Linked DNA regions of Homo sapiens: regions 1 and 2 are each linked to region 3. The links are contacts of gene promoters, found by promoter capture Hi-C in human tissues and cell types (Jung and others, 2019). All regions are on one chromosome and are shown on one strand. Each heading gives the region's core, a stretch centred on a gene start or on the middle of the fragment in contact. The rest is flanking DNA. Distances are from core to core; before and after follow the strand shown.

Region 1 (4,406 bases), core at 307-2,806, 970 kb after region 3:
ATGGCAAGTTTAAGGATCAGAGAAAAGCACCATAAAGAGACTCAGGTCATGACAGAGGGAGGTGGCATCAGATGGGCACAGAAGTGGTGGGCAGGACTAGGCCACAGGTTTGTAAAGCTTTGAGTGTTTATCCTAAAAGTGATGAGGAGCCTTCAAAGGATTTTAAGTAGGAGAGTATCAGGGACAGATTTCCATGTTGTAAAGCTTACTCTGGCTGTGCCATGGAGAGGGAAGTGCTGATTCAGGAGTATAAGCAACTATGAAGCTGTTGCAGTTGTCCAGGGGCCTAGGACCAAGTGCTGGTGGTAGAGGTGAGCAGAGGAGTGCAGATCAAGGAGAGACTTGGATGACATCCTTAGGCTTTGGATATGGATTGGACATTGGTAAGGTGTCCAGGGAATCTCTTAGTCACTAGGCTGGGCTGAAAATGGAGTGAGAGCTGGACAGGAAGAGAGGCAGTCACTTAGCTACAGATGTAGAAGAGATGCACCCAGAAAGAACACATGATGAAAACTAGGACAGTCTGCAGGGAGTAAGACTCACTTAGCAGTTAATTAAAGTAGGTGTCCAAACAGCTCTCAGTTATTTGCGTTATCCAATGTGTTAATTAGGGTTTGTTCCTCCTATTGCAATCTCTGGGCTTTGTTCATTTACATCTTCACCAGTAGGTGGTAGGAGAAGGGAAGCGGGACTTGGGGGACCCAGTTCACTTACTCAATGTATGCCTTGTGGAGAGATGAACACTAAGTGGCCTCATCTACTTGGAATGCCAGCTTATTGCAACTATTTGGCTTACAGAACAACAATCCTGTCCCTGAAGAGGAGAGCTGCATATAAATGCAGTTTACATATCCAGTAACTTTCTGCAACCATCCCTTAATGAATTAGTCAAACCTCCAGGCATCCAAATTGGTTCCTATGATCCTTTCATCTTCCAGGTTGTTTGCCTTTAAAGTTTAGAACTGGATTGAAGAGTATTTATAGCAATGGGACATTTTTGTGAGCCTGAGGAAAGGGGTCTTTGATAAATCAACACTAGAGAATTGTAGAAAAGGAATGCAGCCGGAGGAGTCTTTCAGGCAGGTTTGCAATGACTTCTTGTGCCGTCTTTTGGAAAGGTGCGAGGGCAGCAGCCACCCTGGGCTTGGAGATTGTGTGGAAAAGAGAATCCAAAACTACAGTAAAATTTTAATTGTATGCTTGATCTGTTTCAGGATGAAGAATTAAGACAGATTTAGGTTTCTGTTTTCTTCAGGGTTCGGGCAGGAATCAAACAGTACACTCAGAAGAGAAGGTTGAAGAGAAATGAATGAAGGAACTATTTCTAAGGCTGTGAGCAGGGAAAAGGGAAGCCAGTGAGGGATAGTGAAGCACAAACTATCCAGAAACCACCAACACCCCAAGGCATGAAATGAAAAGAGGAGAGAGTGGGTGGTTGTTTGTCCAAGTGTGGCAGGAAGCTGCCTTGAATCTGCAGAAGAATGGATCCACTGCCAACTACAGTTCAACCAGGAGAGATCCTGGAAGGCAAATTCCCAGACCTCAACCACAGGTGTCTCCCATTGGTCCACCCAAAGCAGAAACTGATGAGCCTGGAGCGCACTGACTCACCCCACAGGCAGCCTCCCGGGCACAGAGCAAGTTCAGAGAAAGGTGCAAAGTGGACACATGGGGGCAAGCAGAGAAAACCCAGCACATGGGTGGGCCAAGAAACTGGTTCAGATTTGCAAATCTAGGCAGATTAATATATTTATATGGGTCTGTGAGTTTCACTGCCAAGGCAGTCTTGGTTTCATAATGATACAGTATAGCGCATGTTGCTAGTATTAAACAACCAACGGAAGACAGAGCTGCTAGCCCGGGATGTGCCTGGGGTGAGGTGGGGAGGGAACTGTGCTGAACAGAGCTGTCTGTTGTTTCCTCGGTTTCCCCTCTGAAGTCAGCTGTGCCTCTGGCCACGGGGCTCTTTTGTTCTTCCTCCTCTCCCCACTCCTCCACCAAAGGAGACAGGGCTTGAATTATTGATGAAATCAAAAGAATAAGCTTGGGGATTGCATGTTTCCATCTTGCCTGTTGTTTGTCTGGTAAATAACGTGTTCTCTGTAAAACCTAAGCTTTTATCTCAGGTGTGCTGACCAGATTGAAGCCGGCCTCGAAGCTTCCCTTGGAGAAAGCCGGCTATGATCCTGGCTCACTCCAGTCTTCTCTCTTTCCATATGCAGATAAAAGAGTCCAACAGCACACTTTCCCCGTGGTTTCCCACACCACTGTGGAACACACGCAGAAACAGACTTTGCTCCTGGTCTTTTCCGTGACCAGATACATGCTCCCCTCCCCAAGACCTGCTAATTTCAGAGTAGTTACCTGTTCCCTTTGGTGAGGCAGGGAACCCTCAGGGTCCCAGTAGAGGAAGACCCGCTCAGACACTGCCCTCTGCTGGAAACTATTGGGACTGCTCCATCCTCCCTGAGGGGTCCTGCCGGGTTCCAGAGAAAGGGACCTTCACTCCTTCTACCTGGTTGCAGATACACCTGCAACATAGGTAGGGACTGACTTACCTAGAAAGCTTCTCTCATTAAGGTCTTAGACGAAAAAAATTTGAGTAGGAGGTGGGAGGATTTTTTATGATTTGATGTGGAAAAAGATTTCTAAACGACACGAGAAACAAAACACACACAAAAAACTGATACATTTGACTACATCAAAAACAAAAACTTTTGTGTGACAGAAGACAACATGAGCAAAATTAAAAGACAAAAGGAGAAAATACTTGTAACAAAGGATAAGTATCTAGATTATATAAAGAACCTCTACAGATTGAAAAGAAAACAAACAAAAATCCAACAGAAAAATATTCTAAAGATATAAAATTGTAATTCACAGAAAAGAAAATATAAGTGGCCCATAAGTGCATGACAATAATACTCTGTCTTACCAGTAATCAGGAAAATAGAAATTCAAACATCAGAGAGAGATTTTGTTTTAACCTGCTAAATTAGAAAAAATTAAAAAGGGCATGGGAGAAAAGATATTCTTTACTCTCTAGGTAGGATCATAAGCTGGTATAATCACTTTGCAGAGAAATTTGGCAATATCTAAAAAATGCAAAATATTCATACTCTGATCCAGTGAGTCCACTTCTCCATATCTACCCCAGAAAAACACTTTACCCATGTGCCCAGCAAGTTTGTGGCAGCTTTGTTTGCAAAATATCAAATGTTAGGTGCAGAAATAACTGAAATTAGCATAAAAATGGGGTTGGTTAAATAAACTATAATTCATTCATCATATATATATTTTATATATATTATTTATATATTATATATTATTTATATATTATATATAATATTTATATATATTAGATATTATATATAATATCTAATATATATAAAATACATAAATAATATATATTATATATATATAGCAGTGTTTTAAAATATATATACTATGTGTACTGACATGGAAAGATCCCCAAGACCTATTGTTGAGTGAACAAAAATCAAGCTGCAGACTGACACACCCTATGATAACTTATATGTAAAACACCCAGGCATATTAAACAATATTTTTTCTATGGGTATAGATACTATGGTCTTTAAAGCATGGAAAAATGCACAGGACGTATAACACTGATACCAAGAGTTACCTCTGGGGCAGAGATGAGGATTGGAGCTGGTGGTCAAAGGGGATTTCAGCCTTATCTGTAATTTTTTTTTTAGTAAAAAGAATGTGTTAATGTATTATATGTGTAATTAAAATTAATAAAAGCTATTCTTATATTAAAAAGGAGAAAAATCTCTCTTCCTCCTTATTAAAGCATCTGCAACAGCCAGGAATCATTGAGCTATGAGTAAAACGCTGCCTTAGGTGATTTGTCAGGGGACCTGCTAAGTAGAGGGCAATGTGGTTGTCCTGGAGACAGCTGTCTTCAACACAAACCATCCTGTGCATCTATCTACACATGTCGGATATGTAACCATATCCCATTCAATGTCATACTTTTAAATCTCGGTTCACAAACTCAACAGTAATAACTTCTAACACAATGAGAGCAGTCAGTATTAAAATCTAGTATCTCATTTAAACTTTTACTCTTTCTCTCTCCCCACCCCACCCCCAGATGAGTTTACTTAGATTTAGAGATGTTAAATAGCCTGTCCAAAGTCAGTTGACTAATATGTAAGAATTTTTCCTACCCCAGAGGCCATTCTTTTCAACCATTTAAACTATGTTACAAAGTGATAAACGCCTTTGTCAACTTCAGCCAGGTAAGGGAGGCTGAGGCAGGAGGATTGTTTGTGGTCAGGAGTTGGAGACCAGCCTAAGCAACACAGAGGAAACTCCATCTCTAAAAGAAAGAAAGAAATGTCAGTTTTCTGTCAAAAGCTTTTGTGGGTTTCCCTGCC
Region 2 (4,811 bases), core at 689-3,188, 740 kb after region 3:
TGTCTTTGAGTACTGCAAAGCGCAATGCAGTGTCCTTGCCAAAGCAACGTGGTGGAAGCCTGCCTGGTATTAATAGCAACAGCAAACATTTATGGAGTGTTTACAATGTGCCAGCTGCCATGCTAAGCACCATTTAATCCTCACAATGACCCTCATAAATAGGTATTATTATTATACCCCCACCAAGCTTTGTAGATGGGGACCCTGAGACTGAGAGAGGCTGAGCTACTTGCTGGATCACACAGCTATCGCCAGACTCCCAGCACCAAAGCTCACACCCTTACCCCCTGCAGTCTGCTGCCTCCCTCCCCAGTCCTTGGTGCTAAGGGCCTCCCAGTGCAGATAAGGCTTGCAGAAGACAGCGGCTGAAGGGCTGCCTTGGCCCTGTTCTCGAGTTTGCTCCTCAGGGCTGGGTCTTGGTGCTGGGAATTCAGAAGCTCTGTTACCAGAGTATCTATGGGGGATTGATCCCAGGGAAAGAATGCCTATTGATCTCACAAGAGGATTCAAGACCTCCACAAGCAGATGTTAGTATACAGGGGGACCCGTTCCAGCCACCTGCATGGTAATCCTCCTGGCAGGTGGTCTGCCCAGGAGACCACACAACATGGCAGATAGGGAAGTTGCTCAAAGGACATTTCCACTGGCAAACAACTCTTCTCTAGAGATCTCTCTGCCTGGTTTATGGATACCAGTCTTTGGAATTCAGAGTACTTTCTGTTTTGATGTTTGCTGGAGATGGTCCAGTGCATTCTTACTCACCAAGTTTTATTTTCCAGTATTCTTCCTTAGGCCTTAAACCTTCTGTTGTTACAACACTGCTTTGTGAAAACCATGGTGGAATTTCTGAGATTAGTTTTATTTCACACCAATACATTACAAATTCTGCCTTCCAAAGAAGAAACAGAAAGGGAATTGGATTAGGAGGCAGGAAAACCCAATGCCAGGCTCAGTTCAGCCCCAGTGAGCCTTATGGTTTTGGGCAAGTCAGCCCAATGAATGGGTTGGACTAGGGGTTGGTCCAGCCATTTCCCTTCCTGCCCAGATGCCCTGGCCTCGAAGAAGCTCAGCATGGACTCCCGTCTGGGGCTGAGATGAAGTGAGGCACGTGGCTGGGGAATGAGGGTAGCAGGGCTAATGGTGGGGGTGGGGCAATTGAACAGTTCCTGACAACCAATGAGTACACGTCCAGGCTTCTTCTGAGTGAAGAGCTTTTCATGGCTGAGGGCCCACCACTGAGTCCCGTTTGGAAGAAACCCACGGGGCCGATGGCGGAGGGTCCCGCTCTGAAGCACGCGGGAAATAAGGAGGAAGAGCCAAGATGAACAGCGTGGATGCTTTTCTGGTCACCTTCATTTCACTTCTAAGCCTCAAAGTTGGTCAAGGCAATTTATTTTTAACTTCCTTGTCATGGCAGGTGGATTATAAACTACCTTCTAGAAAAGTGATTGCCAACCTAAAAATCTGAGGTTTCAGGTCCCATCAGATATTCGAACTCTTTTCAGTATTTCAGAAAATCTCTTGGAAATTGTACATTTACACAGATAATGTATTTACTAACAAAAATGCCAAGTTTCTCTGCTCTTTGGTTAAAATGATACTATTAATTTGGTGTGATAACTCACACCTATAATCCCAGCACTTTGAGAGGCTGAGGTGGGTGGGTCACTTGAGCCCAGGAATTCGAGACCAGCCTAGGCAACACAGTGGGACCCCATCTCTACAAAAATAAACTTTTAAAGAAAGGATTATCCTATTAGTTCAGTGCGGTGACACTGGTGATCTCATGCTAATCTGAAGAGCTGATTGGCAGCCATTTATATTTTGAATAAGTAATAAGTAGGGAAAAGGTAATGACATACACTTATTTTTCTATCATTTACACTCTGTCCTACAAAGTAGATTGGAGTGCCTGGATTACTGCTTGAATTTTTAATTGTAGAACATTTTTCTTAACATTGGGGCCTTGGAGGAAAAACCTAAGGAAAGGAGTATGAGGAAATGAGGGGTTGGAGGGCTCTTTTGTGGTTCATTATCTCTCATCTAAAAGGTAAGTGGGGTCAGCAGAAGACATCTAGAGGCCATTTCATAAGGGGGAGATGTAGGCTTAGCTTCACAGATACCCTGCCAACTTGGGGGCACAGATAACTTCTCTCTACCCTCTAATAAAGCCACTACATGCTTTGTGTTTATCTGGGTTCTTTAACGGTGTCATTATATAAATTTGCAAGAACTGACTCAACTCCCAACCCCTCTCTGAAACTATACCCCATAGACCAGTCATCACTTGATTTTCTGAACGGCTGTGGCCATTTTTTCTCTACCATGTTTAGCAGGTAATTAGGCATTGCCTGGGTGTCCTCGCTAAATGTCCCTAGGTTGTACATCTCTCCTGAGACCTCATCATCGGGGTCTCTCAAATCTTTAGTAGCAGAAGATCTGAAACAGTGCCATAAATACCTTAGCATGATATAACCTTTACTATTTCAAAAATGCTGTAGTGGTCATCGCCACGCACAATCCCTACATCCATCAGGTGAGTTAAAAAGGAGGATGTTAATATCCTCATTCTACAAATGAAGAAATGGAGGCTCAGTGTGGTTAAGGGATCTATAGGCAAGTGGTGGGGCTGGAATATCAACCACTGATGTCTCATTTTCTTTCCACTGTGCTGCCTTTCTAGGTATTCAATTCCAGGTGCAGTGGCTTTTAAACTTTATCACCTTACTTTGGTAGGACTGCAACAAATATATTTCTCAGAGGATTCTAGTGGGTTCTGGTTGTTTCCATTGAATGGTATGGGGCCAGCCCAGGTAGCATTGAAAGTCATGCTGTGGATTTCTTTGTTTAGCAGACTTTATTTTTCCACCTGATACCTGGTCCAGCCAAGGACTGGAGAGCCTCTGACCCTACATTTCTGTTCTGCCAAGGGGACTGAAAACATAAAAGTCATGCTGGATGAATAGGGCTGCCCAGTAGGCAATGAGAAGCGAGGGCTTTTGAACAGGCAGCAATCTCCTTTTGCCTCACAGACCCCGGCTGCTTGTTGTTTGGCTGCTTTGTTTGTCTCTGTGTCACTTTCTCATCTTTTTGTAACCCTGCTGCATCCCTGAGCTCTGATGCTGGTTTCACCAAGGCAGCAGCTTCTACCCAAAGCCTCACTTCCCTTCTCAGTAGAGTCATGGGGCTGACCTGGAAGGAGGGGATTGATGCATCCTTCAAAGGCTACAAGTTCAGGCCCTGCCACTCCTGGGGCAGAAGCCCATTTCACCAGCCAAGAGGAGGATTTTAGCTACACCTGTAGGTTGACTGCCAAGTCTCAATCCCAGGACCCCTGACACACCAACACCCACCTGGGAGGCTGAGCAAAGAATCGCTTCTTTCTGAGGCAGCCAAGTGAATAGATGGTGGGAAGCATCTGCCTGAGAAATGCATTTCTCACAGTAAATAACATTTACATGATTGTGCCTGCAAATGTCACTGTGGCATTTGCTCAGTTGAATATGGTGCCTCTGCTCTCCTGACCTTCCCCTGGCTCCAGGCCCACGATGCTCCTGGGGTCCAGGAACCCCACCTTAGGGAGGGATGCTCCCCTCAGCTCTGTCCTCTGAGGGAGAGACATTTCCTTCTTGACTTGGCAGATGTGTCTCTAGTACACATAGCATCTGGGTTTTGAGTTAATTTTGATTCAAGCGGTCCATGTGGAGACCATGACAGTGAGGATTTTCTTGATGACCCCTTACATTTTCTATTTTCTGCCTCTCATAAGCTGCAACCCTCATGCTGATAGGTCTTTTCCATCTATTTTTTCACTGTATTGCTATGGCACTGTGCCATGTGTGCAAGCTTCCCCGCTTTGTCTTGTAAATGTGCATTGTCTCCTTCCAAAGATGGTCAGCTCCCAGAAGAGAGACCATACCTGTTATTACACTGAGTCATCCGTACACATAAATATGCTGTGCTTTTATGTTTATAAGATCTTATGAGCATAAAGAAATATATTGAAGGGTACGTATTAAGGTGTTAACATAGATTATCTGGGTGAGGGGTGGCTAATATAGATGGAAGAAGGAGGAGAGTAGGAAAGGGTGGTTAAGCACAAAACTACTACACTTACCCGCCGACCTCATGGAAAAAATGTATCCCTGGCACATCAGTGTGACTTTGAGGGCAAAAAAAAGCGAAAGCCAAGATGATGAATTTTTTGATCACATTTATGTGAAAATATACATATGTATATGTGTAAAGAGAGTCACAGAGTAGAATGAAGGAAGACCAAAAGAATACTGTGCACATAATAGACATTCAGTAAATATTTGGTGAATGAATGGATGCTGTGTGTGATAATTTTGTAGATTTGAAATTTCAAGCAGATAATTACTGGCTAATATTTATATTACATCCGCAATGCTCGCAGTGTGTTCTCGTAATCAGAATCACTAACGTTCTCTGGTTCATGGGTAGGGCTATCTGTCTGAGAGAGTCCCAGTTTACTCGATGGTTACCCTGTTCACCCACCAGAACTAGCTGGGGTGGTTGCTAAAGATGGAAATGACAGGGCCTCAACCCTGCTATACTGTCTCAGCATCATGGTGGGGGAGGGAGTGGGACTTGGGAATCTGCATTTTAACAAGCATCCCAGGTGATTTTTACGCTTTTTAAAGCTTTGGCGCCATTGCTCTAGGCATTGTTAGTTGCCAAAGTGATATATTGCTTTTATAATTAACTTTATTCAGACAAGGCAAAACAAAGATTATTATTTACTATATTTAAAAAATCATGCCTCATTGTCTGACCTCCCTTTGTTTTAT
Region 3 (4,254 bases), core at 1,122-3,621:
TCTTTCTTAAAAAATAGGAAGATCGGCTGGGCGTGGTGGCTCATGCCTGTAATCCCAGCACTTTGGGAGGCCGAGGCTGGCAGATCACGAGGTTAAGAGATCGAGACCAGCCTGGCCAACATGGTGAAACCCCGTCTCTACTAAAAATACAAAAATTAGCTGGGTGTGGTGGCACGCGCCTGTAGTCCCAGCTATTCGGGAGGCTGAGGCAAGAGAATCGCTTGAACCCAGGAGGCGGAGGTTGCAGTAAGCCGAGATAGCGCCATTGCACTCCAGCCTGGTGACAGAGTGAGACTCTGTCTCAAAAATAAATAAATAAAATAAAATTAAAAATAGGAAGATCTGGCAATACTGACCCTTCACTCCTACTAACAAACCACTGGAGTTCAGTAGTGCTGACTTTTTAGAAGAGGCACTGCTCTCCAGTACCCAAGCCCTCACCTCTTCCTTCTTTATTCTTTATGGCCCTCATGGGCATTTGAACTTTTTACCCCCATTCTATACATTTCTTACTGCTCCCAACTATCAAATATTAGACACTCTGATATACTTATTTCTCTTCCCCTCGCTGATTCTGATTTATTCTGTGTGTATTCTTTTTTCCCTCAAATCTATTCATGAAACATCCATATTACTGTCTCAGACTCCAAAGACATGGAATTAGTGCTTATCTAAATCCACAGAACCATCTACTGAGAACATTAATATCAAAACCCTAAGAAATTATTGATAACACTCTATGGTCTCATCCATCACCTTTCAGCAAAGCTGTCTCTGCAATGCCACTTTTCTTCAGCTATTTTTTAATTTTCTTTATACCTTTTCTTCAAATACAGAGAATCAGACCATAATAACTTTATGTGACACTTTGATGATGTAACGTTTGGCTCCTCTACATTTCCAATTTTTGCATTAGAATACCATGTTGTGCTAGATTCTACGGGTCTATAGCAGTCACATGACTTGGTTAAAGGCGATTACCGCATGTGGCTTCAGCTTCACACAATTATACAGATATGGTTTAAAACCTACTTGTTCCTAAATAAATCTTCTGACCACTTTGCCCTGAAATAATACTACCAGACCAGAATGCTGCATTTCTCATTTCCACTTACATAGTGGCATCTGGATCCCCTATCTGAAAACTACAGAACAATTCAATTCTTTGCATACAGCTCCTCTTACTCACCTAGAATCACTGAACTTATCACCTGAGAATCTAGAATAATGGGATTTGCAACCCCCCCACCCTCCAGAACCAGGCCCCACCTCACCTTAGTGGTTAACATTAGAGTTTACTACAATATTAAAAGTAATAGTACGATCTCTTTTTCTCTCTGACCCCAAAAAGGAATAGAACTGAACGGAAATAAAAATGAAATGGAGAGTAGGAGACGTACCGCAGATTGAAACCTCGGTTGCTCTTCCTGGAATAAGAGAGAAAAAAAAAAATAGAAAATATAGAAGTTATTTTTACACTTAACATTCAATAATAAGAAAGAAAATGCCGGCGGCAGAGGAAGCGGAGGGTGGGGAGTCAGCCCGACACCCCTTCCTCCCTCCCCACCCCTTGCCCCCACCCTTCCACCCTCGGCGGGATCCGGTAGCAGGGTAGAGGGGTCCCGAGCGCCGCCCCTCCTTCCGGGATCCGACCTGGGCCAGAGGGGTCCCGAGCACTGTCTCCTCCCTGCAGACCCAGCTCGGGCATCTAGGCACCCCCAACCCCTCTCCGCCCTTCCCCGGCCCCCAGGATCCGCGGGTCACGGGAGGAGAGGATCGCAGTCCGAAGGGGCAGGTCCTGAACGCCGTCCCCTTCCCCTGGATCCGGACAATGGGATCCCGGGCGCCCCCCATCCTTGTCCCCCGGATCCTGAGCCGGGGAAGGTGGGAGCGGGAGGCCGCAGCACCCTCCCGCAAGGGAGGAGGTGGGGGTCCCAGAAGCCGCGTGTCTTCCCCCAACCTCCAGTCCCAGGAGGCCGCTCCGGCCAGGAGCCGGAGGGGAGCGAACCGGGAACGCGACGGAGGCACTCCTGGCCCCGAGGGGAAGGGGAAGGAGGCGGCGGCAGCCCGGCCCCCTCCCGCCGTCGCCCCGCTAAGAGCCCCGGCCGCTGTCCCCGCCTGACAACCCGCACGGGAAGGAAGAAGCCCCAGGACTCACGTCGCTCTCCACCTCGATGTCATCGTTATCGCTCATTTCCTACGGCCCAGGGAGCGGCCACTGCAGCGGCGGCGGGGAGGGGAAGGGGTGAAGGGGAGGGGGAAGTCACCGACAACAACAAGCCGAGTCCCCCCCACACACACACTCACTCACTCACTCACTCGCTCTCTCACTCACACACACACACAACACGGGCAAGAACCACCTCCTCACTGCAGCACCGGATCAACGGCGGCACGCACGCCCGGTCGGCCCCCGCCACGTGACCAGGCTCGCAGCGCTGGGGCAGCCGAGACTTGTAGTTCTTGTCCCTCTAACAGACGGCCCGGGTAGCTCCAGAAAAACTACAAATCCCGGAAGAAACCGCATCCAGGCGACGCCAGCCCGGCTTGTTGACGGAGCCCAAGGCGCCTGCGCGTCCCGGGGAGGGGGGGGGGGGCGGGGGGGGGCGGGGAGAGCCGCGGCGCGGCGCCTCCTGGGAGTCGTAGTCCGCAGACCGCGAGTTGTCAGGAGATTTTCCTCCCGAGGCGGCAGAGGAGGCTGCTGGGAAGACAGGACACGTGGAGGGAGCTGGAACTCCTGGAGCCGGGCACCGTCTGCGCGCTGGACGCCGGGCCCAGGGGACTGGGTGGAGTCTCTGGGGGAGTAGCCGGCTGTCTAAATAATGCTGCCTCTCTTTGGTGTGACTGGTTATACTTTGTCTTCTTCATACGGAGTGGTTCCGTTTTGCGCCTAGGGGCGTAACCCGCCCGGGAGGGAATCTGGCTGCGGCGGACCAGGGGGCGCGGCTCGGGATGCCTGCGCGAACCCTCGGGGGCTGGTGGGGAGGTGTCAGTGGCAGGTGTTTCGTGGTGCTACCGGACAGGCAGAATGACCGACCTCGCCGGGCGACCGCTCCCAGCCGCGAGAATCCTGTATTCGTTTATCTGGGAGTGACCATCCTCGCTACTCAGCTACTCACGTGAGGCTCCAGCGTTCACACAACGCGAACCCTCAACCACTATGGACGTGGAAGTAAAAGCCCCTTCAGAGTTTGTTGTAGCCCAGACAGTTTAGGCAATATCCCAGCTCAGAGTACCATAATTAAGATTGCAAAAAGGATCAATATGGGAAACTTTTGCAGTTCCCTGTCCAGTTAAAATCATATTTATATACTGTGGCATGAAGTGTAATCACATGCATTCCACCGATATTTATTGAACACCTAACTTGCCACAAGGGGATGCCATAACGGATAAGACCAAAACCATCCCTGCCTTCATGCAGCTCACAGCTGTGCAAGCAAGCGTGCCGGTCCTGCCGCCATTGTAAGAGTGTGCAACAAGTCCCATGGGAAGGAAGAAAACCATAACAGACACTTTCCACCCTGAGACAAAGTACCCATACTACTCCTTTACATCTGGTCTCCAAAGTGAATGACATCTTGAGCTTTTCCCATGAGTTACTGATTCCCGGATGAATACCATATTATCCCTGACTTTTGAATGTGGAAATTTGGGGATATGTCACACACAATTCTTGTGACACACATTCCTCAACGTGAGCATGTCATCTATGCTGAAAAGACAAATGTAAATGTGGTAATTTTTCCTTTACATTTTTTCCTTTAATATCTATTGTATTTCTTTCTCTCTCTCTTTTTTTTTTTTTTTTTTTTTGAGACGGAGTCTTACTTTGTCGCCCAGGCTAGAGTGCAGTGGCGCAATCTTGGCTCACTGCAACCTCCCTCTCCCGGATTCAAGCGATTCTCCTGCCTCAGCCTCCCGAGTAGCTGGGGCAGGCGCCCGCCACCGCGCCCAGCTAATCTTTGTATTTTTAGTAGAGACAGGGTTTCACCAACTTGGCCAGGCTGGTCTCGAAACTCCTGACCTCGTGATACACCCGCCTCGGCCTCCCAAAGTGCTCACGTGCTCACGCCTATAGCGTGAGCCACCGCTCGCGGTCTAATATCTGTTGTATTTCTTATTCAGTGATCCAGTCCTACTAAGTCTGCACATCTTTGCAAGTGAACTTACCTTTTCTACATGCTTTTGTCTCATAGTGTTCCTTTCCTGCTGAGTTGGGGAGACAGATATAAGCAGACCATTATGTGATAA

Evidence for each region. Contacts are between HindIII fragments. The study calls those that stand out against the background at their distance.
Region 1: a contact is called between a fragment that was not itself captured here and the fragment with the promoter of MAX in region 3, in 1 of the 25 tissues and cell types used here (dorsolateral prefrontal cortex).
Region 2: a fragment that was not itself captured here is called in contact with the fragment with the promoter of MAX in region 3 in 1 of the 25 tissues and cell types used here (dorsolateral prefrontal cortex).

The regions. Positions count from the first base shown.
Region 1 is chr14:66,068,485-66,072,890 of GRCh38, forward strand. No RefSeq gene overlaps it. Among named protein-coding and RNA genes, the nearest start is that of LINC02290, 41 kb to the right of the region's middle. The HindIII fragment of the contact is 3,840 bases long and covers 1-3,476 here.
Region 2 is chr14:65,840,250-65,845,060 of GRCh38, forward strand. No RefSeq gene overlaps it. Among named protein-coding and RNA genes, the nearest start is that of LINC02290, 270 kb to the right of the region's middle. The HindIII fragment of the contact is 4,634 bases long and covers 1-4,255 here.
Region 3 is chr14:65,100,146-65,104,399 of GRCh38, forward strand. It overlaps MAX (MYC associated factor X), which reads right to left and starts at 2,372. Exons shown (of 5, transcript NM_002382.5): 1 at 2,159-2,372; 2 at 1,401-1,427. The coding sequence starts at 2,194. RefSeq lists enhancers at 1,443-1,943, 2,637-2,786 and a silencer at 1,957-2,306. The HindIII fragment of the contact is 28,413 bases long and covers 1-4,254 here.